6 separate regions of the Homo sapiens genome follow, and regions 2, 3, 4, 5 and 6 are each linked to region 1. Evidence: promoter capture Hi-C in 16 types of primary human blood cells and fetal thymus (Javierre and others, 2016). All regions are on one chromosome and are shown on one strand. The core of a region is centred on a gene start or on the middle of the fragment in contact, and the rest is flanking DNA. Distances in the headings are between cores, read along the strand shown.

Region 1 (5,218 bases), core at 1,650-4,149:
TCACTTTTTCTGTAATGTCATTACTTTTCTCTGCTTCTTGGGAGTACTCCCAGTATCATTAGTGGTACTTTGTATGGATCCCATGGTATTCCACTCGGATTTCTGACTTCATAGGGGTCAGTGGCCCTAATCTCTGCACTGTTCAAGGATCAACTTCATATAAAATTATTTTTTATTTCAGAATAGATGTACCTAGTATACCCCATCTCAGAAGGGCCCATGTTTTCTTGTATAACAACATTTCAGAGATACTCTTATCATCTGTGTGTGTGTGTGTGTACGTGAATACACACATAAGTTTTTTTTTTTTTAATCACACATATACACTGAAAAGCATGCTACATACACCATCTGGCACCTTCCAAAAGATTTTTCCTGGAAAAGGGATACATAATCATGGTTTTATTCAAGACAGTTCTAGTGTTTAAAATCACTTTTGCTGACTACAGCAGTAACAAATGGAAAACACCAAAACATATGCAAAAACAGCTTCACTCATAAACCCAACCACTCAGGTAACATTTACCTGTATTTCCTACCTTCTCTGCATAAAAGAAATACAGGGTACAGGTTAGATGGTATACAGATCAGATGGCATCCTATGACTTTTTAATAACACACAACACTAAATGTTATGACCATAAGTAGATGACCTCAGAAATCTAGTTTAACCTGCTCCTACTAGATGGCTCTCCTACCTTAGAAACCTAAACTGACCCAGTTCCCAAAAGAGGTAGGTAAGAATCCATGGACAAAAGTTAATCATATGGGCTGCGTGCAGTCGCTCACGCCTGTAATCCCAGCACTTTGGGAGGCTGAGGTAGGTGGATCACTTGAGATCAGGAGTTCGAGACCAGCCTGGCCAACATGGTGAAACCCCCGTCTCTATTAAAAATGTAAAAAAAGTAGCCGGGCATGGTGGTGCCCACCTGTAGTCCCAGCTATTCTGCAGGCTGAGGCATGAGAATCACTTGAACCTGGAAGGTGGCTGTTGCAGTGAGCCGAGACCGCATCACTGCACTCCAGCCTGGGCAAGAGAGTGAGACTCCGTCTCAAAAATAAAAATAAAAATAAAAATCATATGAAGCTTACATTTCTTTCATACTAAACCTGTTAGTCTAGCTTGGAATACCTTCCAGATGACAGAAAGCAAATAATAATTAGTGTTCCCTCTGTTAAGGATCCCACTTCTCCCACACTCCTACAGTTCAAACATCTCACCATCACAGAGCACACTTCTCAGTAAAACATCAACTACTATTTAAGCTCAATAATATTTAAACCAAGAATCAACAAGAAAGCAAGGCCACTTTTAGGGAAGAAATCTAACTTCAACATAGTCACAAATAATGGTTACACCAGAGAAAAATGAAGTTACCAAATTCCTTGCGCATTCCTCCCTGTTGCTATCCTTGGGAATCAACTACCTTAAGATAAAGAGTAAGAATGGTTGCCTGTTCAAAACATCAGAGAAAACAGCTTGCGGATGCTGTCAATGAGAACTATCTCAGATTTCTTTCCACCAAAAGCAAATCTGGTGTTAATTTTAATGGAAAAGTCTCCTCTACTACCTATTGCATCGCAACAATTTCTTGAAATAGTAAAATGAAGTAAAACAAGTTTATTTCGGGGGCAGAATCTTCTGATTTCAAAATGTCAATTGAATTTATCAATTTTAACCTTTCGGAATATTTCAGGTTTTTTTGGGGAGGGTGGCATCAAGTCCTCTTAAGAATATTATAGGGATGTGGCCGGGTGCGGTGGCTCACGCCTGTAATCCCAGCACTTCGGGAGGCCGAGGCAGGCGGCTCACGAGGTCAGGAGATCGAGACCATCCTGGCTAAAACGGTGAAACCCCGTCTCTACTAAAAAAAAAAAAAAAAAATACAAAAAAATTAGCGTGGTAGCGTGGTGGCGTGGTGGCGGGCGCCTGTAGCCCCAGCTACTCGGGAGGCTGAGGCAGGAGAATGGCGTGAACCCGGGAGGAGGAGCTTGCGGTGAGCCGAGACCGCACCACTGCACTCCAGCCTGGGTGACAGAGCGAGACTCCGTCTCAAAAATAAAAAATTCTAAGGATGTTGGGACGGGTACCACTTTGCTTTCTGATTTCTGTCCAACAAATCTTTATGATCGTCTGTTTTATTCAACAATACTGCGGGAAAAGCTTCAGCTGCAAGCTGAGGGGGTGGGAGGTGGGGAGATGGAAGAACGCGCTGCAGGTGTGCGGATTCTGCCTAAAATTGCGGCTACGAACTGGACCTTGAACACTCCTCCGTCAGCTGACTTGACTGCCTGTGTACAGTCTCAATTTGAGCCGACACACGGATTTCACTTTTGAAAAGCAACGAAGATGAAGAACTCGTTTTGAGAAATGGATGAGAAAAAGGTAGCTCAGGAGACGAAGCCTCGGGAAAGGAGGCAATCAACCCCACCCCACCGGCCTGTGCTTCCGGCCTCGACGCTCCGCCGTGCTCCCCGAGGCCGCTCCTCTGCGGAGCTCGCTCTCCCCACTGGTCCCCAGTCCCGCAGCTACGCGGCCTCCGCACGGTTAAGCAGCACGGGCCGGGCGTCTGCACCTTCGGAGAAAAGCCGCCGCCCAGGCTCCGCGCTGCGGCGTTACCTGTTAAGAAGCAGGGAGGCGGCGCTGAGACAGAGCAGCAGGAAGCAGAACAGCGGGTACTGGCGGCAGATCTCGCGTCCCACGTCCAGTCGCAGCCGCTGCTTCAGCTTCTGCCCCATCGTCCGCACCCAGGGCACCATCTCCGTAACGGCGAGGCCGAGACTGCGCTACTGGCTGAGGCAGAGGTCAAGGCGACCCCCCATCCACACCTCGCGTCCCCGCCCCACCGACTTGGCGGCGCACACAGACGCCTACCGGCAGTTAGCCGCCGCAGGCTGAGGTCGCGTCCGGCTGGGCCCAGCCCCACGCCCCCCGCCGCGCGTGCGCGGCCGCGGTCCCCAGCCGACCAGAGGAACGGCCGTAGAACGTGCCCGAAGTCGTCACCCAGCGCAAAGCCTCTAGCGTCTCGCCGCTCCGCCCTCCTGGCCGGAGTAGCGCGCAGTCTTCCGTGGAAACTCTGACAACACTGGCGACCGGCCATTTCCGGAAATCAAAGGACAGCCCCAGCACCCAGTAACTGCCTGTATTGCGGAGGAGAGGGAAGAAGGTTGTAGGGAGCCCGGAAGAAACTACAGCACCCCCGTAGCCGCCGGGCGCTGCCTGAGGGGCAACCGGAGCTCGTGGAGCCCGCTGGGAACTGTAGTCTTCGTGACACGAACCCGCAGAGGGATGGAGCGGGTGGTAGCGCTTCCCCGACCCCGCAACGCTCCGCGCCTCACCGTACACTCGGCTCCGGGTGGGAGCAGGTCCGAGCTTTGCGTGACGCCTAAGGGAGAGGGGGATAGGAGGACGCCTTTGAGTCGGTATTTTAAAAGGGGTGTGTTGGGGGCTGGGGGGGTGGCGAGTAAAACAGCCCTAGAATAAAGACTACAACTCATCAGGCCGCCACCCCACCAACAAAATCTCTTTTGCGCGCTCACGGGCAAGGGTAGAGCTCAATTCACGCCGGCTCCGGGAGCCCAACCAAAATCCGAGTGCTTGGAAGAGGCAGGTTGGCAGATTAGGTAAAATCCCTCTTATAGAGTCTCATGGGGTTTTCCCTTTACTAATTCATCACATTTCTAAATTTTTTTTTCTGTATTGTCCGCTACAGTGAGAGATGCAGGAAGACTATTATCGCGAAAATTTACTTAGGCGGTACAGACACTAAGCACTTTCATTTGACCTTCATGCATTCACCCCATGGTGTAGGTACAGTACTATAGTTTCAATCATTATACAGGCAAATTACTGAGACAGAAAGGAACTTAGGATCATAAAACTAACAAAGCCGGAATTTGAACACGTTCTAAAGACAGAGCCTGTGCCTGTCATCTCTCTTTCCTAGGATCTTATCCTTCAAAGTGGGGAAACAAATGTTTTTTAATGATGTATGTAGTTTCATGAATATTTTCCCGTATTACAAAAACATGGATCTTTAATGATGCATTATTATCCTTTATCAGAATGTACCATCCTGTTCCATTATTGCTAACCACTAAAGTCCATTGATATTACCATCCTTGATGATAAACCTATGCACATTTCTAATTATTTAGAATCAACTTTAATACAATTACTGGGTCAAAGGGTAAAAACAAACATTCTTGATACAGTCAAACTGCTTTGTAGAATGGTGGTACCAACTCCACAGTGGTGTATAAAAGTAAACAATTTCACTGATCCTCACGATTAGCTATTATTGTCTAAACATCACAAATACACTTTTCTGTTTGTGACTAAACCATTTAAAAGACTACAGTGTAACATCATTGGAAAGCTTACCATTTTTTAATATTTCTAGGTACATATTTAAACATTTATTAATTTCACTTTGGCAGTTTTTAAGTATCTTTATCTGTTAATACTAAAATAGGTGTATGTTGAGTGGATCTACATGTATCAAGTGCCTCCTATGGACTTGAGTGCTTTACACTTTTGTAAATTACCTTTTAAAAAACTAATCTCATGACAAATAATGTAAGTTATTAACCTGCCTGGTAAATTATGTTGCCTTTTGTTTAAAACTTTTGCTTCCTTTTAAAGCCTTATTTTGAAATTACTCTTTTCACCAAGAGCCAGTATATTTTAAAGACAAAATGTTTTGAGTTCTGTTCAAAACAGACATCACTACAACATCCAATTAAAAGACTTCTTTCCCATCTGATTTCTTAGAGGCAATTAGAATAAGTTAACTGGACAATAGATAATTTAAATTTCCAAATTGCTCTTATGATTAGAAAAGGAAAAAAAATATAATAAACTTCAGCCATAAGGAAATTCTTTATGGCAGAGAATTTCCACACCTAAAGCATGAAACATAATTCAATTTCTGTCACTACGGACCTCATCTAAGGAAATAACCTTTATTTCATTACATGTCTTTAGCCTATGGTCTAGAACCCACCTTTACACGCACAGAGCTCGAAATTTTTTCCCCAACCTTGTTAAGTTCTGAACTTTGGAGAGGTTATATGGAATATCCACAATCAACCAACCCTGGTTCTGAAACTAGCTCTATCTCCTACTAGCAACATGTTAGCAAGATTAACTTGATCTATCTCACTCCTACCTCAACTCTAAAACAGAGCTATTTTCATAAAACAGGTGGGGGGTGGG
Region 2 (5,218 bases), core at 1,753-4,252, 6.5 Mb before region 1:
AAAAAGTTGAAAGCAAAATTATATATATATATATATATATATATATATATATAAAAATGCCAAACAAAAGTCATATAAACTTACGATCTGTATAATAAGTATCCAGAAAAGGAAGAATTAAGTAAGATTTGAACAGGTGGAAGAAAGAAGAGTAACATTCCTGGCTAGGCAGGAACATGAGAGTGGAAAAGAAGCTATGATTGAACTTTGAAGGTCTCTGAAAATTAGGAGTACACTTAGAGAAAGTACAACACTATTAAAATATCTTAACCTCTTTATACTATCTTCAGCAGAAGAGTGACACAACAAAGGTAGAACTGAATAAGGTTACTATTACAGTGTTACACACTATACTGGGAGGGAGAGAGAGATAGAAGACACCATAGGCAAGAAGATTAGTTTGGATGATGCTGTATTAATCCGGGTAAGGCAAGGGCCTGGTAGTAGCAGATGTGAAAGGCATGAACCTAGGAGGCATCTCAAGAAGACATACTTGCATCAGTACTCCCTCTTTGAAACTTTAGCCAAAAAAAGAAAAAAAAAAAAAAGTACTGTGCTCTTAAAAAGATAACTACTTTTGTCTCCTACCATTATAACTAATCTGAATTATATATTGATTCTACTAACTCGACCTAATAATATATACCTTAATATGGAACTTTCGTAAAAATAAAATTCCAATGAGCTAATTGGCCTACATAAGGTGCAATGTGCACAATCCCTCATTATACATGACTTTTTCACTATTAAAACTACTACTAAGAAAAAAAATCTATTTTTTTCTTTTTGAATGCAGATGTACATAATATGAAGTTCTCTAATACCACAGTAACTAAAAAACCTTTTCATTTTCAAAAGCTCTTTACCAAGAGGCTATTAACTACTAGTGAACTCAAACAACTCACCAATGCTGGGTGGGCTACCATAGTTAACTGGTGACTCAGGTGGTCTTCCACAGTGCAACGCAGCCAGAGCAGATCCTTTCCACACAACATGCTTGCAGCCTATTAAACACATGTATTTTTATGCATACAAAGAACACAAAAACAAAAGTGAGATAAATAATGTCTAAATCCTATGAGAAAATTTTCATACTTTTATTTGTGCGTAGTAAAGACTGTCTTCCAGCTCCTAATAAAGTTTGTACTCCAGGAACACTTTGAGGAATTTCTTGTTCAAGAAGAGGTCCTAGTCGATGACATATTTGCAGCAAGTGATCAGGTGCTAAGTGTCTGTAATACTTCACCTATTATGTAAAAGACAAATATAGTAGGTTTCAGTTTATCATTTTAATTTTCAAAATCTTTGAGCAACAATAAAAAAATTCATCCAAGTATAAAATATTTTGTTTTGCGTCTTTGATGTAAAGTAAATCTCCAGAATAATTAAGAATTAAGAACTGATAGTTTGTTATTAAAAAATTTAAGAACACTTAACATCTATGCTGAATTTCATAATTTACCAAAAACCTTACAGAGAGAAAGGCAAAATTCCAACTGCTGCTTTAAATATCTTTCAATCATAAAATAAAGCTACCCACTATAAAAAGTTTGAGCACTTTTGGAACAACTTCAAAATACTGCTTAATTTATACCGGCATTTGAAACCATGACATGAAATGCTAATATTTTTATTAGTCTTTCAGTAAATAAACAATATTCACTATCTAAATAAAATTATATTGGAAAAAAATACTATTGTATTACTTCATAATTAGCTATCAAGTTAGAAAAAAATTTCCACAGTAGTATCTAGTTCAGCTATTCTCAAAGTATGTTTTGGGAACCCCTGGAGGTCCCTCAGATAAAACTTATGAATAACACTATATTAGTTGTTTTTCACTTTTTCTCATGAATGCACGGTGGAGGTTTCCACAGGACACATAACATGTGATGTCTTAACAGACTGAATGCAGAAGCAGATAGGAAAATGTCTCCTCTATTAAGCCAGATATTAAAGATTCACAGAAATGTAAAACAATGCCACGCTTCTCACAAATTTGTTTTGTTTGGGAATAATTATTATAAAAATGTTACTTATATTAAAATAAGATTAGTTTATTAGTATTATTTAATAGGTCTCCAATATGTTAAATGCTAAGTTTCTAATATGGTAAATACCAATAGATTATAAGCTACACAAATAAAGGAACTTCAATACATTTTAGTAAGTGTAAAGGGGTCCTAAGACCAAGAAATTTGAAAATTGTTCCTCAAGTTTACCAAGTAATGGCAACTTTAACATGAATTCCTTTTGATAAGACTGATGTGGGGGGAGGTGAGGATTTAAATCATCTCATTCCATCTTGCAATATCTGCTATACTCTTAACTGCAGAAATCCATGAATGATATGTTTTTAAAGGTAGCTAATACCCATCTAAACTGAAGCCAATAGGAGAAACCTACCTTACTCTTTATCAAAATACACTCCTTCTTTCACAAAGATAACATGGAGCCATACTGCCACCAAATAATCTTTGGTAAGATTATTTAAAACAGCAGTTTGGCATACAGTAGGTGATAAGCCAGTAAAATGAGTATTTTTGGAAAAAGGAGTTCTAATACAGTTTGTATCATATGAATTATACATATTACCTCCTTGTTTTGCAGTCAAAAAGCACACTGACATTGAAGTCTCTGAAAAATCCTGAGATTATTTCCCAAACTCATTTAGCTACAGAATCCCTTTTTTCCCTAATAATATCTATCATATTCACTCAGAACATACTTTAGGAAACACTAGTATGATTAGCTAAATTAAAAAGCATTTAAAAGAAAACTTACCAAAATGAGTTTTTAAAATCGTATACTTTTCTTTAATCTTCCCCAAAATAATTTACTCAAAAATAAAATTTAGAAGTCTAGAATACTTGTAAGGTTGCTTCCAGTTCTAAGCTTGCAAATGATTATTTTAATGTGACTTAATTGATCAAAATTCCTTTTAAAAATTTTACTTTAAAGAAGATGGAAGTTCATTACTTATTAACTTCAGATGTGTGATGATCCTGTTTTAGTATCCTCTGGCAAAATATATTTTCAGGTAGTGAAACTGAAAATCCTTACTGTAATATTCTATCTTTCAATAAAATATTATGAATCCACTCTGACTCAAGCTTTCTTTGGTGATTTAGAATGTTTGAATTTTTCAAAATCAACTTTCATTTTAAAGTTAGAAGAGATACTTCCAGTTCTTAAATTCCTTGTGCTTTCTCTGGCTTTTGAGACTTTATACAAGCTGATGCCTCTGCTGGCAATCTTGTCTTACCTGCTCACCTCTACACCTCATTCTCCTTCATGTCTCAGTCTATGTCTCACTCACTGCCTTCCATGACCTATTTACACCACCTGTGCCCCTTTTTGGACACTTTGTGTTCCCACAGCACATTATACTCCTCGAATGTCCCTTCATCCCTCTAGCACTGTGTAGTACTTACCATATTAATTGTTCTTAATATATTTTGATACTTAGACTTTTAAGAATCTAATGACAGCTACGATCTTCTTCCCTGCAAAAATACACAAGCCCTACCATTATGTGCCCTGTTTTGGGGGTTCATAAGACTCATGCACTATACTAAAATTGCCAGTTTACTTGTCTGTGTCCTGCATAAGGAGAGATTGGGCCATGTTTACCTCTGTCTACCCAATACCTAATGCAGTACTTATAGTTAAGTGCTTAATAAAGTTCTAGTTGGATATATGAAGATTTAAGAATATGCAGAAACGACTGACTTCCCCACTCTCAAAAAACCCAAAACATTTTGTTAGCACCTATCCCAGCACATAAAAATAGATGCAGTAAAATTTTTTTACATGGTATAATTCTTTATTCTAATAGTTTTGGGGTGAGTTTGTTTGTTTTGAGACGGAGTCTCCCTCTGTCACCCAGGACGGAGTACAATGGCGGGATCTCGGCTCACTGCAACCTCCGCCTCCCAGGTTCAAGTGATTCTCCTGCCTCGCCTCCCGAGTAGCTGGAATTACAGGCGCCCCACCACCTAACCTGGCTAATTTTTGTATTTTTAGTAGAGACGGGGTTTTGCCATGTTGACCAGGCTGGTCTCGAACTTCTGACCTCAAGTAATTCGCCCCCTAGGCCTCCCAAGTGCTGGGATTACAGGCATGAGCCACAGCGTCCGGCCAATTCTAACAGTTTTAAAACACTTTTTAAAGAAAGCCTTAGAACATGTCTTCAAACAAATTTTAGACAAAACAGATTAAAGTAAAGGTACTCAGAAAGTATCTTACTTAAGTGGCATCAGGGAACACATATCTCAATGCTTGACTCTCTACTTGCTTCCTCTTAGCAGTCCCTGAGGTACCACCATGAAAGGGTCTCTGGAAAGAACAGTGGAAACAGACTAACAAACAATGCTATTATCCTCTCTTTCCCAAGAATCCTCTTCCCCACCCCTCATTTTCTCAGCAGATGACCTAACCTACTTTACAGGAGAACCTTTTTTAAAGCTGAAGCTTTGTTTCTTCCCTATCAAATCTGTAAACCTATCTACACCTGTACCAATTCTGTCTCTTATTAACACAACTGTCCCTCTTAATAAATATTTAAGATCCAATCCCTCTACTTATGCTTTGAATCCTAACTTCTCTGACTGCACGGAAATCCTACACTATAAATTAGACCTCCACATTCTAGTATGTACACTAACTTCCTCTCAACCAACTCCTTCCCATCTACATGTAAACATGCTCATTTTGCATCCACTTTAGGAAAAAACAAAAATCCTGCCTAACTGCTATTATCCAACACCTCCCCACCCAAATATCCTGGCTACCCCTTTCCCGTTCTCTTCCTCTCCGGAAACATGTTTTTAAAAGAATGGTCCATAGTCCATCTAATTTCGTATCCCATCCTCTCCTCAATCTACTCCACACTAGCTCCCACACTCATGACTTTACAAAAAATAGCTCTTATCAAAAGTTCACCTTCAATTATCAATAACTCCAATAAGCATTTTTAAATCTATACCTTATTTAATGTCCCATAATATTTCACCTAACTGTTGAACACTTCCTCATTTGCAAACTATCTTCTCTTAACTTTTGTGACACTCCTTGGCTTGCTTTCTTCCTCTCCAACCATTCCTTCTCATTTTTCTTTTAGGCTTATACTCCTCTATATAGCCATTAAATAGTGAAGTTCCTTAAGATCCTAGGTACCAGAGTCCAGTTCCAGATCCTCTTTTCTTCTCACTATATA
Region 3 (5,218 bases), core at 937-3,436, 6.5 Mb before region 1:
GTTAGGCTTGAAAAGATAGACTGAAAAGATAGGAAATTTTGTATGCCTTTTTGCAAATTGTATTTACTTCTAAGACCGATGCTGTTTTAGCTTAACTTTTAAAAAAGTGTTCTTCAAATAATTGTAATATTTTACACGATCTTGAAGTTCTTCAAATAAACAGAGTTTAGAAACTAAAAATTATAGTGGGATTTTCTGGTTTTGAAGGCTTGGAATGTATGATTCTTACTAATAGATGTTTTATTCTTGTGATTGAAAATAAACCAAATTATGACATGGAATATAATATTACTCTGGGTAAAGTTTGTGATATATATCTTCTGTGTGTTTTGTAAACATAGAAAACTAGCATGATTATCTCATATATTCTTTTCATTTAGAAGCCACAAAAGCTTTCACCTAAATATGCTACTAGTACTTAGCTCCTTAAAAATTTTTTGGAAAATCCCCCTCTAAGTTTTCTAAACATGATGTTCCTGTCATTTTGATTGATTTTTGACAGTGTTTATATTTCTTTTTCAAATGTCCAATATGCAGATTGTTGTAACCTTCCCTTTGAACTATTGTCTGTTATAAGAAAATATACATTACCTGCTAAAAATTAAAACTTCCCTTCAGCCAAATAAACTATTTGTATTTAACAGTGGATATTGAATTGAATTTTACTAAGTCCTTTAAATGTAACAAATACTCCAAATAGCCCTTTTAATTTTCTTAAACATAAAAAACATTTGTGAATTATAGCATTGACAGTTAACTGTAAGATTTATTAAGTTGTTTATTGTACTTGTTTATGTACAAAGTCTGTAAATATCAAATAGAAAGAAAAGTCTTATTTGGAAGTTCTAGATTTTAGTTCCCAAAGCAATGATCCTTGCAATTTTTTGTTCAGCCAACTCTTTTGCATATAAGGATAGTTCAGATTCCATCTATATCCTTTCCTGTTTGTTTATTTTAACATTTTTATGGGTTTCCAAAAATAAAATATCACTTTAAAAAGATCTCCATGCAGTTTAAATAACAAGGTTAACAAATAATAGTAAAAGTTTGGAAAGCCAAGACCTAACGTTTTTACATAATATAGTCTCTCTAGGAGATATAGAAACTTTTCTTGAAATATAAAAGTTTATGTGAAATTCATCACTTTTCACGTGGCAACACATGAAACAAAATAAATATTTAACAAAAATTTTGTCTTGATCTTGTAAGCTATTATTCCAATAAAATAATCAAATACTATCATTTCAGTTGTTTCAGGAACAAGATGGGATGGTATTTATAAGTACAAAAATTATACATTTATGAAATTTAATCTCCAGTAGTATGGTGAATAATACGTAACTCAAAAAATCTCTATAAGTACAACTTTTAAAATTTCATGTTAAATCTTGCTTTTGTTTTGATGTTACATTTCTTCTATAGCAGAAGCTTTATCCTGTGAAATACAGAAATGTAAAAGTAGAAAACACTGTTCTCTCAAAAGTACTTTAAAAAAAACTACTCATCTGCCCCAAGAACACAATACAACTGTCAAGGATCTTATTTAACAAGCCACACTCCTCACTGTGGCTTGCTCCCCAATATTGTGTGTTTCTGTCCATGCTTATCTGACTTTCTCTCTCTCTTACACACACACACACACACACACACATATCCTTCTTCATAGAGCATGAATATTTATCAGATTTGAAGCACATGAACAGATATACTATTTGGCTGCTCCAAAAAGAATAGAGATAACCAACTTAAGTGAGCCATTCCATTATTTAACAATGTTTTTGTTATTTAACATTAACAGTTCTCCCTTATATCTCACTGAGGAATCTTTTTACTTAAATTAGAGCACGTTTCCTTTTAATGTGTAACAAATATAGCTAGTCCTCAACAATCATGTTATCCCTTATGTATTTAAATGTTAGTAATTCACTCAATCTTTTTTATCCAAGTTAAATAATTCTAGTAGTTTGTATTTTTATAAGTCTTAATTTGCACAAGAAATACACATCTTCATGGGTTTATTTATATAGTTTGTTTTAAATGATCACTTCATGAGTTTTAACAGTACAATTACAAAGATTAAAGGAGAAAAACAATTTTAGAACATATTCCCCTAAGATTTGGAGCAACACAGTGGATGAAGCAGAAAAAGCTGTTCCAGATGGCAGGAAACATAAAGGAGAAGTCTGTAGGCATGTTCTATCATAGGAAGATGTCTGATGGACTGGGAGTGGGCTGAGTTGAACAGAGAACAGTGAAAGAAGAGAAGGTAAAGTGGGGGAGGGGAGGAGAAAATGGGTGCAGAGGCTCTGGTAGTACACTATTATCTATGCGATGTTAAGATGGCATTTGAGAAAAACAGTTACATAGTCACTTGCCTTTATATGTGCCTAAAGCCATAAACTTCAGGAACCCCAAAGAAAAAGCATTTTAGTTATAGAAAAGGAAGGGAAAGTTTTATCTGACAAATAGTGAGGAATCTATACAGAGTAAAAATAATGGATATCAAGGACACCAAAGTAGACACTACTGATGACAAAGAAGAACAGGTGTTTGAAAGAATAAGGACTGAACATTCAGAGCACTCACAAGTCTGACTTGAGACTCATATATAAGTTCTAATTCAAAATTAAGAATAAAGCAACTTAGATTTAACTGTAACCAAAAATACTCTATTTTCTGAATTCCTATAAGAGACCTAATTATACAATCTAATTTGTATATTATTTTTGTTTTTCTTCATATATGGGGATGTGTGTGTACTTGCGAAGGTCCCCCTGACTTATGCCTCTGTTGCTTTATTCTCTTTCACAGATATTCTCATACATGTTTATTGAAACAATGACTAGCTATTACAAAAAAATTAGTTATATCATAGTTAAAAATTTAAAACAATATTGATACCAGGTAGATCTTTCAACCAAGATGTGTGTGCTAAAATTTAAGAAAAGCTTATAATTTGATTTTAAGATTACACCTACAAATCTTGTTACACTAACAGTTTTCATGTTTACACTTGAGTGCCTAAAAATACAGGTGCAGACGAAATGGCTGGAGTGGATTTTTAAATGCTCATCAAAATTTACCAACTGATAATGATTTATAGACAAACTATGATAGCCTTTAGATGGAATATTGTGGTAAGAATATATGTGGTATTTCCCCTTAACAGGTATCAGAAGTAATGCCTCTAAGACATCATTAGAGAAAATCTTTCTTAAAAATGTTGGGTAAGTAGCATCATGTGAGAAGGAAGAAGTATATTGTCTTTTTGTCTTATTATAGTTTGTACATGTTACACTTTACACTTGTTTTTGTCATTCAGTGTTTTGGGTTTTTTGGCAAGTACTTGTGTAAGAATTCCATCTTTCCCTGATATTCCGGCATTTTCAGTTTTTTCTGTGTCTCTGTAAAAGTTTCCTTCTTTTCCATCAGTGAAATGTTAGTTTCCAAAGGTAAAATACGGAAAATAAGATATGTAATTATTTGGAGAAACAATTCCCATGTTATATTTTCAGTTTGGATATATTCTAAGAACTCTAAAAATATAAATATGAATCTATTCTTTCCTCTTATAATTGGGACTGTCACACATTAAAATCTTCAACATCTCTTATTTTCAGGTTTCCTGGTTATTATACAAAAGACTAAAACAATTTAAAGAATTGGTGTCAAAAGGAGGAAAAAACATGTAGCCTGCCTCCCTGTCTTCCTTCCTTTCTTCCTGCCTTGCTTCCCTGCTTCCCTCTTCCTGCTTTCTTTCCTCTGTTTTTCCATAAGGAAAGAAATGAAGTGCTAAGTGGCAAACGTTTGCTGTTTGTGCAGTATGTATTTGCATTTTTGTGTTGCCAAATTTTTCTTATTTCAACATTTTTACCGAAGTCCAGGTAAATGTGGCCCTCTTCAGATGTTAGATTTTACTGAGTTAGAGGAATTACTAAATTTTAAAAAAAGTTTTTGCATTTTTCACACTCCATAAAGTTTTCAGGACTTACATAAACTTAAACCTCTCTATGGTTAATATTGCTTAACTTCACTTCTTTGAGATATTTAGATAACTTGTTTCATTTTCATTTTTAGATCCAGATCGTATTATACCTTAAAAAAATTTAGATCAGTTTGTGTTGAACACACAATGGCAAATTTCCGTGGCACGATAGTGAAGATACTTTCCCCTAAAGCCTATTAACAGGCATTCTTCTATTAGAATAGTAATTACAAAGGTAATTTCCTCTGTTAATCACCCAACTTTTTTCCTGTTATTATTTTATGATCTTTTCCCTTTTTACTACTCATAATATTTTAATAGAAATTTTTTTAATGTTAAAAAAGATGAAAAAAATAAGAACTTCTGTCACAAGTTCTGGTGTTCTGCATTGCTGTGAAGCTGTGTTTTTTTTTTCCTGGGCAAAATTATTTAAGATGACATAAAAACCCAAAGTCAACCTCTAACATCTGTCCTTGGCCCTTATATGTCATTCCTACTACTATAGTATTCTCATTGCAGCGTTATTCCTTTCTCTCTGTGTGTCAGCTGAAGAACCATCATTTAAACACTTGCAGTTTGACCCTCATTATGTACTTTGTTTCAACACATGGAGATGCCCAGCTTACTAGAGGCTGATAATCTGAAGCAGCAGTGACCCCTCTAACCACAACATCTGGAAAACAAAGGTTGCATAATCTGGCTAGTCTCCAGAAATTTTCAGTTATTAAAATCTGACTTTGTTTAACAGCAATAACTCAATTTATTGAATGGATTGCAAGAGATATGAATCAATGGCTATATATACCATTCAAATTTAACTGCAAAGAATTCACATTTTTGAAACAATGAGTATTTCATATAGACTATGTTTCTGTATCTTAACCTAATTGCTTTTAGTACAAAATGTATATATTTTACAATGCTAGCCGGAATAAAGTCTACCAAGTTATTTTTAGCATCTGCAAAACAACATGCTAAAACTTTGTGAAGTAATCACTTGAGTGTGATAGACTCTTGAATTTTTTTTCAAAACACTTTTTGAGTGAGGGTATTATTTTCATATTTTAAAATTAACAGTTAATTTATAACAGATTATTTTTATTTATACAATATTATTAACCATAGAGAGGTTTCAATCAAGTCCTCTAGCCACAAGTAGATTGAAACTTACAAACTAGAGTCACAAGTTGCATTTACTCCAAAAAATTTTTTAGTGTGCAGATTTTTTCCTTT
Region 4 (5,218 bases), core at 751-3,250, 5.6 Mb before region 1:
TTGATGTCATCATATTTGGCAGGTTTTTCCAGATGGTAGGTGAGGTCCACCACTGACACGTTGGCAGTGGGGACACGGAGGGCCATGCCAGTGAGCTTACCATTCAGCTCAGGGATGACCTTCCTCACAGCCTTGGCAGCCCAGTAGTGGCAGGGATGATGTTCTGGAGAGCCCTGTGGCTGTCACGCCACAGTTTCCTGGAGGGGCCATTCACAGTCTTCTGGGTGGCAGTGATGGCGTGGACTGTGGTCATGAGTCCTTCCACGATACCAAAGTTGTCAGTGATGACTTTGGCCAGGGGCGCTAGGCAGTTGGTGGTTCAGGTGGCATTGCTGATGATCTTGAGGCTGTTGTCATACTTCTCATGGTTCACACCCATCGTGAACATGGGGGGATCAGCAGAGGGGGCAGAGATGATGACCCTTTTGGCTCCCCACTGCAAGTGAGCCCCAGCATTCTCCATGGTGGTGAAGATGCCAGTGGACTCCATGACATACTCAGTGCCAGCATCACCCCACTTGATTTTGGAGGGATCTGGCTCCTGGAAGATAGTGATGGGATTTCCATTGATGACAAGCTTCCCGTTCTCAGCCTTGACGGTGCCATGGAATTTACCATGGGTGGGATCATACTGGAACATGTAGACCATGTAGCTGAGGTCAATGAATGGGTCATTGATGGCGATAATATCTACTTTACCAGAATTACAAGCAGCCCTGATGACCAGGCGCCCAATACAACCAAATCCATTGACTCCAACCTTCACTTTCCCCATGGTGTCTCAGGGATGTGGTTGGCAATGCAAGAGAAGATGCAGCTGTCTGTCAAACAGGAGGAGCAGAGAGCCCTGCCTAAATTATTTCATGCACTCTCATAGCGTTGGTTACCATCTGCATTCATAACTCTCAGATATATGTGTTCAACCTAGATCTTCTTTCCAGCTCATGTATCTCATAGCTTGTGTGGTTCTCTTTAATGTAACTCAGGCATCTTGAAAATCAACATGTTAAAAACCTATCTCCCCCCCTCCCACAATCTGTTCTTCTTTCATATTTCCCTATTTCCACACATGCCAAAAGTGATCAATGACATTTTATAATATTCTCCCTTCCAACACACATCCAATTCATGACCACCTCCTATTAATTCTGCTTGCAAAATATATCTTGATTTTTTCCACTTCCCTCAGCTCTACTGCATATAATTTAACCGAAAATTCCATCATTTCTCTCCCACCTTAAACACTTCAAACTTCAATCACCTCATTTTTTTTTTTTTTTTTTTGAGACAGTCTTGCTCTGTCACCCAGACTGGAGTGCAGTGGCATGATCTTGGCTCACTGCGACCTCCGCCTCCCAGGTTCAAGTGATTCTCCTGTCTCAGCCTCTTGAGTAGCTGGGATTACAGGCACTCACCACCATGCCCGGCTAATTTTTGTATTTTTAGTAGAGATGGGGTTTCACCATGTTGGTCAGGCTGGTCTCGAACTCTTGACTTCGTAATTCGCCTGCCTTGGCCTCCCAAAGTGCTGGGATTATAGGCGTGAGTAACTGTGCCTGGCCTCAATCACCCCTTAACTGATCTCTCTGCATCCATTTATTTCCTCCTACAATTTATTCTCACACAGTACTTTGAGTATCTTTTAAAATTGCATGTCAGATGATGGCATTTCTCATCTTAAAATCTCTTAATATTTCTAGTACTCTCAGGAAGCTCCAAAGCCTCCACATCTAGAAGCTTAGAACATTGTAAATCTTTCTTCTTGCCTAATGAAAGTGTGATCTAGAATGCCTATCATTCCTTTACCACTTCTGCTTTTAGTATACAGGGAAGCTAATCAGGACCTCCTTCTGTTTCTCCAAAGAGCCAAGCTTCCCTTGACTCAGGGCTTTTGCACATAACTTTCTCCCTCTTGGAATACTCTTTCACAACCTCTGACTAGAGCTAATACCCACTTTACCTTAAATGTATGACCTAGGAAAACTCTGACTCCAATAACAAGGTTAGATCCCCGTTACACACATGTTCACGGTGTCTTGTACTTTTTTGTCATAGTATTTGTATCATTTAGCATTAGATATGATTACATATTACAGAAAAACCCAAAAGAAAAGTGCCTAAAGCAAAATAGAAGCTTTTTATTTTTCACTTCCTTAAAGGATGTCAGGATGTGGACAGACCAAAGTTAGTAGAGATAAAAGAGCCAGTAAAAGGTAAGCACGTAATAACAGACCTTTAAGATACATAAAGCAATATTTGACAGACTAAGAAAAAAATTAGACAAATTCAAGATTATTGTTATAGAATTTAATACCCCTATTATATAATTAATATAATAAATAGGCAAAGATAAATTATAATATAGAAGAGATGTATTACACTGTAAATCATTTGACCTGGTGGAGGCCAAATTCATGGGCATGAAACAATCACAAAGATCTATAATTTTATGGGCTGTTAAATAACTCTTAATAAATTTCAAATAGGAAATAATATAGAACTTGACCACAAGGGGATTAAATGGGAAATCAATAACAATGAAATATCTATAAAAAATTTTAAGGTCAAGCACAGTTGTTCACACCTGTAATCCCAACGTTTTGGGAGGCAGAGGCAGGAGGATCAATTGAGGCTGGAAGTTTGAGATCAGCCTGGGCACCTAGTGAGGCCCTGTCTCAACAACAGCAACAGAAAGTATCCAAACTAATTTATTGAGAGTTTTTAGCATGAAGGGCTGTTGAGTTTTGTCAAAGGCCTTTTCTGCATCTATTGAGATAATCATGTGGTTTTTGTCTTTGGTTCTGTTTATATATTGGATTACGTTTATTGACATGCGTATGTTGAACCAGCCTTGCATCCCAGGGATGAAGCCCACTTGATCATGGTGCATAAGCTTTTTGATGTGCTGCTGGATTCGGTTTGCCAGTATTTTATTGAGGATTTTTGCGTCGATGTTCATCAGGGATATTGGTCTAAAATTCTCTTTTTTTGTTGTGTCTCTGCCAGGCTTTGGTATCAGGATGATGCTGGCCTCATAAAATGAGTTACGAAGGATTCCCTCTTTTTCTATTGATTGGAATAGTTTCAGAAGGAATGGTAACAGCTCCTCCTTGTACCTCTGGTAGAATTTGGCTGTGAATCCATCTGATCCTGGACTTTTTTTGGTTGGTAAGCTATAAATTATTGCCTCAATTTCAGCTCCTGTTATTGGTCTATTCAGAGATTCAACTTCCTCCTGGTTTAGCCTTGGGAGAGTGTATATGTCGAGGAATTTATCCATTTCTTCTAGATTTTCTAGTTTATTTGCATAGAGGTGTTTATAGTATTCTCTGATGGTAGTTTGTATTTCTGTGGGATTGGTGGTGATATCCCCTTTATCATTTTTTATTGCATCTATTTGATTCTTCTCTCATTTCTTCTTTATTAGTCTTGCTAGCAGTCTATCAATTTTGTTGATCTTTTCAAAAAACCAGCTCCTGGATTCATTGATTTTTTGAAGGGTTTTTGTGTCTCTATCTCCTTCAGTTCTGCTCTGATCTTAGTTATTTCTTGCCTTCTGCTAGCTTTTGAATGTGTTTGCTCTTGCTTCTCTAGTTCTTTTAATTGTGATGTTAGGGTGTTAATTTTAGATCTTTCCTGCTGTCTTTTGTGGGCATTTAGTGCTATAAATTTCCCTCTCCACACTGCTTTAAATGTGTCCCAGAGATTCTGGTATGTTGTGTCTTTGTTCTCATTGGTTTCAAAGAACATCTTTATTTCTGCCTTCATTTTGTTATGTACCCAGTAGTCATTCAGGAGCAGGTTGTTCAGTTTCCATGTAGTTGCGTAGTTTTGAGTGAGTTTCTTAATGCTGATTTCTAGTTTGATTGCACTGTGGTCTGAGAGACAGTTTGTTATAATTTCTGTTCTTTTACATTTGCTGAGGAGCGCTTTACTTCCAACTATGTGGTCAATTTTGGAATAAGTGTGATGTGGTGCTGAGAAGAATGTATATTCTGTTGATTTGGGGTGGAGAGTTCCATAGATGTCTATTAGGTCCACTTGGTGCAGAGCTGAGTTCAGGTCCTGGATATCCTTGTTAACTTTCTGTCTCATTGATCTGTCTAATGTTGATAGTGGGGTGTTAAAGTCTCCCATTATTATTGTGTGGGAGTCTAAGTCTCTTTCTAGGTCTCTAAGGACTTGCTTTATGAATCTGGGTGCTCCTGTATTGGGTACATATATATTTAGGATAGTTAGCTCTTCTTTTTGAATTGATCCCTTTACCATTATGTAATGACCTTCTTTGTCTCTTTTGATCTTTGTTGGTTTAAAGTCTGTTTTATCAGAGACTAGGATTGCAACCCCTGCCTTTTTTGTTTTCCATTTCCTTGGTAGATCTTCCTCCATCCCTTTATTTTGAGCCTATGTGTGTCTCTGCACGTGAGATGGGTTTCCTGAATACAGCACACTGATGGGTCTTGACTCTTTATCCAATTTGCCAGTCTGTGTCTTTTAAGTGGAGTATTTAGCCCATTTACATTTAAGGTTAATATTGTTATGTGTGAATTTGATCCTGTCATTATGATGTTAGCTGGTTATTTTGCTTGTTAGTTGATGCAGTTTCTTCCTAGCCTTGATGTTCTTTACAACTTGGCATGTTTTTGCAGTGGCTGGTACCGGTTGTTCCTTTCTATGTTTAGTGTTTCCTTCTGGAGCTCTTTTAGGGCAGGCCTGGTGGTGACAAAATCTCTCAGCATTTGTTTGTCTGTAAAGGATTTTATTCCTCCTTCACGTATGAAGCTTAGTTTGGCTGGATATGAAATTCTGGGTTGAAAATTATTTTCTTTAAAAATGTTGATGGGACATATCTCAAAATAATAGGAGCTATTTATGACAAACCCACAGCCAATGTCATACTGAATGGTCAAAAACTGGATGCATTCTCTTTGAAAACTGGCACAAGACAGGGATGTCCTCTCTCACCACTCCTATTCAACATAGTGTTGGAAGTTATGGCCAGGGCAATCAGGCAGGAGAAAGAAATAAAGGGTATTCAATTAGGAAAAGAGGAAGTCAAAGTGTACCTGTTTGCAGATGACATGATTGTATATCTAGAAAACCCCATTGTCTCAGCCCAAAATCTCCTTAAGCTGATAAGCAACTTCAGCAAAGTCTCAGGATACAAAATCAACGTGCAAAAATCACAAGCATTCTTATACACCAATAACAGACAAAC
Region 5 (5,218 bases), core at 1,430-3,929, 5.5 Mb before region 1:
AGCCATAGTTTTAATTAAGCTTTGAGAAACCTAGCAGTACTCATAAATTACCTGGGGAAGTTTTAAAAAATCACTACTGCCGGGCTGGTATGTATTTTTACAGATGAGTAGCTCTCTCTAAAACACTGTTATACATACAGGCAGATATTAACATTTGTAGCCGTTTTCTGAGCCATTGATTGTATCTAAATCCTTCCCCTGGGCTGAGCCCAAACTTCCAATAATGTCACTTTTTGATGCCCTTTCTTCAGTGACTGGCTTACACGGCTTCTGTCTACATAGCATGGTTCAAAGTGCTTGGAAGACTGATCACAGTGCATCTCAAGCCCCTGCAGGAGATAAGAAGCCAGAGAGAAGTTGCCAAGATGCCGAGGAAGGGGAAGAAGGAATAACTCACATGCTGGATGGGACAGCTGGCTTAGACCAGGGGTTGGCTTAAAATAATGTTGATTGAAACACTGTCTCTGGCACATGCAAGGCTCTCAGTACACACTAGTGAATAGTAGAATCAGAATTCTTAAAATTAGAAGTACGCTAAACCACCTGTAAATGAAGCATAAATCCTCCCAAGAGGCTCCCTCAATAGTGTTCATCCATTTCGTGCTTGACTATTTCAGTAATAGAGAATTCATTACTTCCCATGACAGTCTACTTAATAAGAAGCTCTTTATATTACACTAGAATTTGCTTCTTCCTGTTTCTTATTCTTCCCTCCGGAGCTAAATAGTAAATTTAACCCCTCTACAAGGGAGCCCATCAAACTTTGAGGGAGAGTTAATACATCACTTTTAAAATCTTATCTAGACCAAATATCTCTAGATTTTTAACCCTTCTCCAAATGACTTTAGGTCATATTTGAAGAAATCCACAAAACACTTTATAAAAACTCTTTAACCATGTAAACATCCTCCTAATAGTTTATCAAAAGCATCCATAGTTTATCAAAAGCATTCATCCAGTTAGCTTCTGTTCCTGCAACCAAGTCTCTGACTGTTATGCCCCTGTCCCCTGAAAGATATGTTGAGCTTGACACTCCCCTACCCCCAAACCCAGTACCTAACCCCTGGCCCTCAGAATTTAAGCTTATTTGGAAATAGGGTCATGGCAGATGTAATTGATTAAGTTAAGATGAGGTTAGATTGGAGCAGTGTGGGCTTCTAATCCAATATGACTGGTGTCCTTATAAAACGATAGCTGTGCAAAGATATGGAGACGGCATGTGGTAACAAACGCACATACTGGATTTATGCAACTGCAAGCCAAGGGATGACAAAGAATTCCAGAGAACCAACAAAAGGGAAAAGAAGAATTTTCCTACAGGTTTCAGAGGGCGCATGGTCCCACTGACACCTTGATCTTGGACTTGATCAGAATCGCAGACAATACGTTCCTGCAACCAGTTTGTGCTGCTTTGTGACAGCATCCCTAGGAAACAAATACATTGGCTTTGAGTATATTCTGGACTTTCTTTTGATTCCAACAGGATCATTCCACTTAGTAATTCAGTGAAGTAAGGAAAATCAGGGAGCTTTTCCATTATCCCGAGTCCTTAGTTGAAACCGATTTCATATGAACAGAGTCTGTGAACTAATACACTGGATGTTAAACATGCTGTAGGGGGAATGAATCTCTTCATCAACATATTTAGATGGGCAAATATAACTTTATTTTTCTGTAATTTAATTTTTAAATAATAGTGCTACTGATATATAATTTACATATCATGAAATTCATCCTTTTAATGTACAATTCACTGGTTTTTAGCATAGAGCAAAGTTGTGCAACCATCAACATTACTTAATTTTAGAACATTTTCATCACTCAAAAAATAAACTTTAGGCCGGGCGCGGTGGCTCACGCCTGTAATCCCAGCACTTTGGGAGGCGGAGGCGGGCGGATCACGAGGTCAGGAGATCGAGACCATCCCGGCTAAAACGGTGAAACCCCGTCTCTACTAAAAATACAAAAAATTAGCCGGGCGTAGTGGCGGGCGCCTGTAGTCCCAGCTACTTGGGAGGCTGAGGCAGGAGAATGGCGTGAACCCGGGAGGCGGAGCTTGCAGTGAGCCGAGATCCCGCCACTGCACTCCAGCCTGGGCGACAGAGCGAGACTCCGTCTCAAAATAAATAAATAAATAAATAAATAAATAAATAAATAAACAAACTTTATATCCATTAGCAGTCATTCCCTACCTCCTGTCTCTGTTGATTTGTCTATTCTGGACTTTTTATAAATGTAATTGTATAATATATAGTATTTTAAACTGGCTTCTTTCACTTAGCGTAATGTTTTCAAAGTTCATCCATGTAACACTACTTAATTACTCTTTATTGACAGATAATATTCTATTTACAGATATATCAGTTTTGTTTAACCATTCATCATTTCATGGGTATTTGGATTGTTTCCACTTTTTTGCTATTATGAATAGTGCAGCTACGAATATTTGTGTACTAGCTTTGGTGAATACACCTTTTCATTTTTCTTTGTTATATACTTAGGAGTGGAATTGCTGGGTCATAAGATAATTATGTTTAAAAAAACAAAAAAGGAAGAGAAATAGAAGAACAAAATTAAAAAGATAACTGTGTTTAACATTTTGCGGAACTGTTTTCCATAGCAGCTGCATCATTTTACAGTCCCACCAGTGATGCACAATGGTTCCAGTTGCTATACAGCCTCACCAACACATGTTATAGATTTCTTTTTATTTTAATCATCCTAGTGGATATGAAGTGGTATCTCATTGTGGTTTTGATTTGTATTTCTTTAATGACTATTGATGTTGAGAATCTTTTCTTATGTTCATTGGCCACTTGCATATCTTCTTTGGAGAAATGTCATTCAAATCCTTTGTCCATTTCTTTAAATAGGCTATGTTTTTTAGAGCAGTGTTAGGTTCACAAAAAATTTGAGAGGAGGGTACAGAGAATGTCCATATGCTTTCCCCAAATACAGAGCTTCCTTAATCATCAACATTTGCACTGCAGTGGCACATTTGTCACCATCAAGGAACCTACATTAACACACAGTTGTCAACCAAAGCCCATAGTTTACATTAGGGTTCACTCTTGGTGGTGTACGTTCTATGCATTTGGACGAATGTATAATGACATATTTATATGTCCACCATTATAATATCATACAGAATATTTTTCCTACCCTAAGAATCCTCTGTGATTTTCCATTTATCCCTTCCTGCTCCCAACCCTTGCAACCCCTCATCTCTTTTATTCTCTCCATAATTTTGCCTTTTCCAGAATGTCATATAGATGGATTCATATAGTATGTAGCCTTTTTAGATTGGCTTCTTTCACTTAGTCATATAAATTTAAACTTCTTCCATGTCTTCTGATGGTTAAATATTTTTTTTTCTTTTTTTTCTTTTTTTTGAGAGTCTCACTCTGTTGCCCAGGCTGGAGCACAGTTGCGTGATCTGGGCCCACTGCAACCTCTGCCTTCTGGGTTCAAGCGATTCTCCTGCCTCAGCCTCCTGAATAGCTGGGACTACAGGTGCACACCACCACGCCCAGCTAATTTTTGTATTTTTAGTAGAGACGGGGTTTCACCATGTTGACCAGGCTAGTCTCAAATTCCTGACCTCAGGTGATCCGCCCGCCTCGGCCTCCCAAAGTGCTGGGATTACAGGCATGAGCCACCACACCCAGCTTAATATTTCTTTTTAGTGCTGAATAATATTCCATTAAGTTTATTTGGTTGCTTCCAAGTTTGGGCAATTATGAATAAAGCTGCTGTAAATATTCTGCACAGGTTTTAATGTGGACATACATTTTTAGCTTATTTGGGCAAATACCAAGCAGCACTACTGCTGGATTTCATGGTGAGAATATGTTAGTTTTATAAAAAACTAAACTGTGTTGCAAAGTGGCTATACCATTTTGCATTGCCACAATCAATGAATGAGAATTCTTTGCCCATTTTCTAATTGGGTAATTTTTCTTTTCTATTGTTGCGTTTAAGACTTTCAATCAGTATATTCTAGACACAAGTCCTTATCATTCTGATTGCTGGGTCTCCTCAAGTTCCCTGGATCTTGTTGCCATAGCTGCATCTCTCTTGGCCACATGGGAGAAGCATCCTGCTGTTTCAAATGCCATGACATGCTGGGTAGCCTGAGGATTTAGTGATACTTTTCTAGGTTCATCTACAAAGGAGGATACCTACAGGTCTTTCTAATCTATAGCTGTACCTCCATGGAAGGTGAGACAAACCATCTCTTATACTGGTATGTGATTTACAATCTTTTCTTTTAGCCCTAAGCTTTGTTTCCTAACTCATTCAGGTTTTTGAGGTTTAATACTCAGAAACCAGTCTGTAGAATTCAAACTTTTCTCTCAAATTATTGTCTCTGCTATCAAGTTTAAAATCTATTTTAAAATTCAAAAGCAATAATTTGATTTCTTTTTTTTCTGCCTCCATGATACCTCTGTTTGAGTTTGAAAGGAGGCAGATGCCAGGATGTAATACTGCAAAACTATCATCTTGCTATATAAAATGGTCGTCTAAAAGCAAGCTGAGACTAAACAGGTACAAGTTGCACAGGTAGTGAAGCTCAGTGAGAGCAAGTGATGCAAGAGTCATTCTGAAGGGTGAAGAGCAACTTTGCTTTGTATTCCAACTCCATAGTCATGGGTTCTGCAATTGGAAATAGCTTAAACAAAGAGGGGAATACATTTTAAGGATACGGTGATGTCTCATAGAACCCCAGGACCAGAAAGCAGTTAGGCCTTGGGAATAAATGGAATCAGGAACTCAAATATAATCACACTCTTCACCTTTTCTGGTTCACGAAATTACTGAAAACTCCCATTTTTTGCAGTTCCTAGTGGCATTTAAAGATAATCTGATCTTTCTTTCTAAACTACACTTCCAAAATTCCCAGAAAAGGACAGTTTCCCAAATTGAGTAAATGTGGCCAGGGCAAGGGGAATGGAGGAAAGTCCCACTGTAATAACATAGACATTTTCATGGTTACCAGGCAAATGGTGTGGTAGAGATGGGGAAAATTTAAAAAATCAGTTTGCAAAACAGGTGAATCTGGCAGGTGCTCTGTTTGTTTTTCCTGGCTGCATGTAGTTGAAAGTTCAAACCTCTTAGACCTTCAAAATCTCCCTTTAATCTGTTTTTCCTACTTTTTCTGTTAACCCTGTATCATTCCCTACACCCTGAATCTAGAAGCACCAAGCTATTTTCTCTT
Region 6 (5,218 bases), core at 929-3,428, 5.0 Mb after region 1:
ATTTGAACTGTTGTAAATTTTAGAATGGTTATAAAAATGCTTTTTTCATTTACTTTTATGAAGAAAGTTTTTCTTTGATGATGACTATCAAGAATTTGAAGAGATCATCCTTAAAAAGTCTGGATCAGGAATTGATGGTAGTCATTTCAAATATAATAATTTATGTTAAAAATTATATTCATGAAGGAAAGCTTATTAAAAATTCTTACTAAAATTTCAAAGAGTCTATTTGGTGTTTTATACAAATTTAGTGTTTAACATTGTCTCTAATACATTGTATTTCATTTTTCAAAATTATATAATGTAAAAAAAAAGATGGTTTTTAAAATTAAGCCCTGAATAGATGACTTCAATCCCTTCTAGTTTATCCCAGAGTATCTTACAATATTATCTTTTTTTCTTTCTTTCTTTCTTTTTCTTTTTTTTTTTTTTTTGAGACGGAGTCTTGTTCTGTCACCCAGGCTGGAGTGCAGTGGCATGATCTCGGCTCACTGCCACCTCTGCCTCCTGGGTTTAAGCGATTCTCCTGCTTCAGCCTCCTGATTAGCTGGGATTACAGGTGTCTGCCACCACACCCGGCTAATTTTTGTATTTTTAGTAGAGACAGGGTTTCACCATGTTGGCCAGGCTGGTCTCGAACTCCTGACCTCAGGTCATCTGCCCCCCTCAGCCTCCCAGAGTGCTGGGATTAGAAGCGTGACCCACCACGCCTGGCCAATATATCATTTTCTATGTGTGCCATGACATGAAAAAGTTTGGGAAGCACCGAGTTAGGAGGCTGTTGCAGTATTCAAGGCAAGACATAATAGTGGTTTAAACAACATGGATAGTGGCCATAGGGGTTATAGATAAACGGATAAATGGGAGGCATTGAGGAAATAGAATTGGTAGAGTTAGTGATTGGTGGGAGTTATTGACTGACACTGGAAGTGGGGAAGGAGGTAAAGGAAAGGGCAATATAGAGGAGGATTTCCAGATTTTTCATTTGTGCAATTCATTGTAGAAAGGGTGCCTTTTGCAAGAGGCAAGAAGAAGAGCGGGAACAAGGTTAGGGAAGAGGAGAATGAAGAAATAAGTTTTAAACATGTTGAGCTAGAGGTTCCAGAGAGTATTATGATCAAGTAGGCAGCTGATCTTCCGGGAAAAGACAAAGCTAGAGAAACAGATGCTGATCTACTGATGATATTAATAATTAAATTCATGGAAATTGAAAGATATGTAAAGTGAGACTAGGACTTAAGAAAGAGCTGTAAGGAATAAAATGGTTAAGGAGTGGGTAGAGCTGGAGTAACTACCAAAGAAAGTTGTGGAAAATAATTTAAAAAAACTATGATATTGTAGAAACCAACATGAAAAGGATGTTTGTGTTGAATACTTACAAGAAGTTAAACATGGCCGGGCGCGGTGGCTCACGCCTGTAATCCCAGCACTTTGGGAGGCCGAGACGGGCAGATCACGAGGTCAGGAGAGCGAGACCATCCTGGCTAACACGGTGAAACGCCGTCTCTACTAAAAACACAAAAAATTAGCTGGGCGTGGTGGCGGGCGTCTGTAGTCCCAGCTACTTGGGAGGCTGAGGCAGGAGAATGGCGGGAACCCAGGAGGCGGAGCTTGCAGTGAGCCGAGATCGCGTCACTGCACTCCAGCCTGGGCAACAGAGTGAGACTCCATCTCCACAAAAAAAAAAAAAAAAAAAGAAGTTAAACATGAGAAAATCTTGAAAAGGGTCTGTTGGGTCTAGGAACTCAGAGGTCACCCATAACCTTGACTAGGGCAGTTTCCAAGGTGGGAACAGAAACTAGATGAGTTGGACTGAGTGAGAGGTGAGAGAAATGAGGACAGTAATGTGGACAACTTTTTGAGAAATTTGATTGTTAAGGGAAGGCAAAATACAGAACAGTATAAATTAAACCCACATTGCGGCGAGGGAGTTTAGGGCTTTGGCAAGAGTATAGCTGAATGATGGGCCATGGGAGCTAACCTGAAGAGAGGATAAAGAGATGATGGGAGGGTATGATAGTTTGGGAGAAGGTAGAAGGGTCACTAGGGTGGAGGTTTGCCATGTGATTGAAGAACAGGTGTGGTGAACGTTTCCTGGGCAAACTGGGTGGATCTGGGGTTGTGTTTAGAGAGTGAGACTTTTGAATTTGTGATTTCAAAGGTGGTGCAGTTTCAGGTAAGGGCAACATTCAATCTGAGATACGATTGGGAGAAAAGGAGGGAACTGAGAAGGGCAGGAACTGAGACGTCAGGATGTCTGTGAGTCATTCATCTAACTGTCTGCTGTTGGACATTGAGGTTGTTTTTAACACTCCCCCCTCCCCCCTTTAAATATCACTGAGATGAACATCCGTGAACATTATTTAAATTTAGTGTTTTTAGGGTATCTTCATGCAAAAGCTATTCTATTTCTTTGGTAATCTTAAAATGCTTCAAGTTTGCTTATGCTTTAGAGAGGGGTGGTAAACTAATTGTAGTTAGGATTTCTGTGCTTTATCTTCAAAGCACAGGTTTTAGAATTCTGATAGAGTTCTTATCTTGATTCTGCCACATATCTTGAATAAATTACTTAAAATTTCAACTTTAGTTTATCTAATACCTACATCAAAGGTTTTGGTGCAGATTAAAAGTGACTGGTTCATAGAAATTAAATATGAAGTAATTGTTAGTTTTCCTTTTTTCCTTCTTGGTGTGGTGATAATGGGCAAAACAGTTCTCCATCACAGATAATAGGAGACTATTGTCCCATCATAGCTTAGTTGCTAACTGGTACAAAATTGGAAAGAAAAGAGAGGCTGGATTGGGGAGATTTGTTGAGGGGAAAAAAGTGTGCTGGTGATTTTTTTATGTATACTCTTTCCACTAGCCCCAGTAAGAGGGGTCTCTGCTCTGAGCCACACACTTTAAAATCTCCTTTTATACCATGTTTGTCATGGGATGAGAGCTCTAGGTACTCAAGCCCCTGAAATAGCCCCCAGACAGCCCCAAAGCTACGTGTACAAGTTTCTCCTCTGGGTCTGTCCTCCGGAGGGCTAGCCAAAGTGTATCTGTGTATGCGTATGTGTGTGTGAATGGGCTCAGATGGGCAGGCTTGGGAGCCCACATGTGGGTGTGTAAAGGCCCCTTGCAGTGTAGATTGAGCCCAGAGTAGGAGGACAGGGGTATAAATCAGGAGTTGGAGGCTAGCTTTGCTTATACCACTACATTCTAGTGAAAGGGAATATTGTCAAGGTAGGAGGATGGAATATATTTTATTTACCAGTTTACCTTGATTTACTGCTTATAAATATTTAGGCATATAATATGTGAGCCTCCATTTGTACTCTTACCCTGAGCCCCACAGATGTTAGGAGAATGTCTGCTTTTGTAAGTGCTAGATTTCTGTTCCTGTGTACTACTCGTGATTTATAGGTAAGATGTTCCCAGCTTGGATTTGCTATTTCCTAAATTTTCCACAGATGTCTGTACCTTATCAGGTAGGTCTCAGCTCAAACAGCACCTCAGAGATAGTGATATGGTCCTCCCTTTGGCTCCCTCTCCCTTCACTTCTATCTATTACTAAGTTTTATTTCTAGCCCTTTACCTATCAACATCATCTTTTTAATTATTTTCTCTCTTGTTTATTTTCTGTCCTCCTACCCCTTACCAGACCCTGCCCATTGGATGTTAGCTGAACTGGGGTGAGAATTGTAAGTGTTTAGTAGACACTTAATAACTTTTTAGAAAGTAAATGAGTATCTACATTTCTAAATAAATGCTGTTTACTTTATTTCAGGTGTAAGGATTGGGTTAACCAAATGTTTTCTATAACTGGGGGAAGATTTAATAAATAAATTGATATATAATTGGCATACCAACTATTTGTAATGAAGATTTCTCGAGTATTTGAGGGTTTTGAAAATTCTTCATTCTCCTGGTCAGTTTAAATATCTCTCCAATCTTCATGTTACTAAGTTTTAGGATACTTTTTTCCCCTGGATTTTCCAAGGGTAAACTTTAGTTCTTTCCAAATACCTATTTAATTCATTTGAATAGTTTGCTTGTTGAAAGTTAATAAGGTGTTATTATGGCACTAATGATTACTTTCAGAAATAACTGATATTTTAATCAAAAAATATGTAAAAATAGAGAGAATAGACAGAGTTTTATTTTCTGAGCTTCCGAGCTAAGCTTTATCATCATGATATACTTCAGCATCGGTTTTTCATGGCAGAAACTTAATCAGATAAGAACATGAGTCAGCAAAAAAATTATCTTCATGGAAATAGTGCTCTTCACTACAAAAGTGCATTCACTGAATGTTTTATGTCATAGACTAATATGTCACATCGATGTTCTTAGATGATCTTTCTCAGAAGAAACTGCAGAAGCAATTTGGTTTCATTTATGGGAATAAATAAGGGTATTTCATTTCACACAGCCTCAGGAAATCACAAATTAAAACTTTCCACTAAAATGGATGCCATCCACTCTTCATTATTTCAACAAACAAACCACTCCACTCTGCTGAAGCTATAATCAGGGTAAGGGATATTGTAGTGCTTGAAACCTGTGAGGCTGAGAGGGTCTACTTTGCATTCTTGTTCGTTAGCAACCCATTTCACATCTTCCTCCGAGTTCCCCAGCACCGCACAGAGCTACTCTCAGTGGCACAAAGCTCTATTAAGTAAATAGAGGCTCCATATTTAAAAGCCATCTCTGGGAATTCAAAGTGCTCTGAGAGGGAAGTCAGTACTATCAAGATTAAGGTATTAATGAAAAGTTCTGTTAAATTTCTGTTGGGATGCTAATTAATCTTCTAAAAATTGTTAATCAATTCAATTATGTAACACACTTAAACTTTAACACATGATACAGGAAAAGTAACAGGGTCTTTTAATTATGCCCAGAGGCATTCAGAAAGTTAAGGGAAATTGTCTAATGGGAAAAGTGTCCCCAAATGGTGTTTTAGTTGAATCTAAAATATTCACTTGTTCTATTACACTTGACAAGTTTGGGAAATCGATATTTAGTGCTTAGATATCCGAAGAAATATTAGAAGTATTAGAAGAAATTCAGGAAGTGGAATTATGACAACTATTTCTTAATGGAATTTTCTATCTGAAGTGCAGAAGACAATCTAAGCACAGATTATTAAACTCATGCTTTAGCTTGAATTGTTAAATGAAGAAATAATCTGATAAACTTTTAATATTTGAAGGCTGACTAACCATGCTAA

What was found. Contacts are between HindIII fragments. The CHiCAGO score rates a contact against its expected background, and 5 or more counts as called.
Region 2: a contact is called between a fragment that was not itself captured here and the fragment with the promoter of SNX14 in region 1, in 4 of 17 cell types (total CD8 T cells, total B cells, total CD4 T cells and 1 more). The highest score is 8.0, in total CD8 T cells.
Region 3: a fragment that was not itself captured here is called in contact with the fragment with the promoter of SNX14 in region 1 in 10 of 17 cell types (naive B cells, total CD4 T cells, activated CD4 T cells and 7 more); the score reaches 17.0 in naive B cells.
Region 4: a contact is called between a fragment that was not itself captured here and the fragment with the promoter of SNX14 in region 1, in 1 of 17 cell types (fetal thymus). The highest score is 7.3, in fetal thymus.
Region 5: a contact is called between a fragment that was not itself captured here and the fragment with the promoter of SNX14 in region 1, in 1 of 17 cell types (non-activated CD4 T cells). The highest score is 5.3, in non-activated CD4 T cells.
Region 6: a contact is called between a fragment that was not itself captured here and the fragment with the promoter of SNX14 in region 1, in 1 of 17 cell types (total CD4 T cells). The highest score is 6.5, in total CD4 T cells.

The regions. Positions count from the first base shown.
Region 1 is chr6:85,590,959-85,596,176 of GRCh38, forward strand. SNX14 (sorting nexin 14) reads right to left here and starts at 2,900. Exons shown (of 29, transcript NM_153816.6): 1 at 2,621-2,900. The coding sequence starts at 2,760. RefSeq lists enhancers at 1,391-1,976, 1,977-2,560, 2,561-3,144, 2,593-2,762, 3,073-3,192 and a silencer at 2,823-3,042. The HindIII fragment of the contact is 2,215 bases long and covers 2,163-4,377 here.
Region 2 is chr6:79,059,573-79,064,790 of GRCh38, forward strand. It overlaps PHIP (PHIP subunit of CUL4-Ring ligase complex), which reads right to left. Exons shown (of 40, transcript NM_017934.7): 5 at 1,096-1,246; 6 at 906-1,004. The region is part of intron 1 of LOC124901346 (a long non-coding RNA gene); the gene reads left to right. Among named protein-coding and RNA genes, the nearest start is that of PHIP, 16 kb to the right of the region's middle. The HindIII fragment of the contact is 218 bases long and covers 2,894-3,111 here.
Region 3 is chr6:79,080,245-79,085,462 of GRCh38, forward strand. No RefSeq gene overlaps it. Among named protein-coding and RNA genes, the nearest start is that of PHIP, 4.6 kb to the left of the region's middle. The HindIII fragment of the contact is 1,520 bases long and covers 1,427-2,946 here.
Region 4 is chr6:79,953,237-79,958,454 of GRCh38, forward strand. All of the region lies in intron 1 of LOC124901351 (a long non-coding RNA gene), which reads left to right. It also overlaps the pseudogene GAPDHP63. Among named protein-coding and RNA genes, the nearest start is that of ELOVL4, 8.3 kb to the left of the region's middle. The HindIII fragment of the contact is 263 bases long and covers 1,870-2,132 here.
Region 5 is chr6:80,099,664-80,104,881 of GRCh38, forward strand. No RefSeq gene overlaps it. Among named protein-coding and RNA genes, the nearest start is that of BCKDHB, 4.4 kb to the right of the region's middle. The HindIII fragment of the contact is 3,199 bases long and covers 1,081-4,279 here.
Region 6 is chr6:90,592,912-90,598,129 of GRCh38, forward strand. No RefSeq gene overlaps it. Among named protein-coding and RNA genes, the nearest start is that of MAP3K7, 8.4 kb to the left of the region's middle. RefSeq lists an enhancer at 4,380-4,945. The HindIII fragment of the contact is 3,979 bases long and covers 190-4,168 here.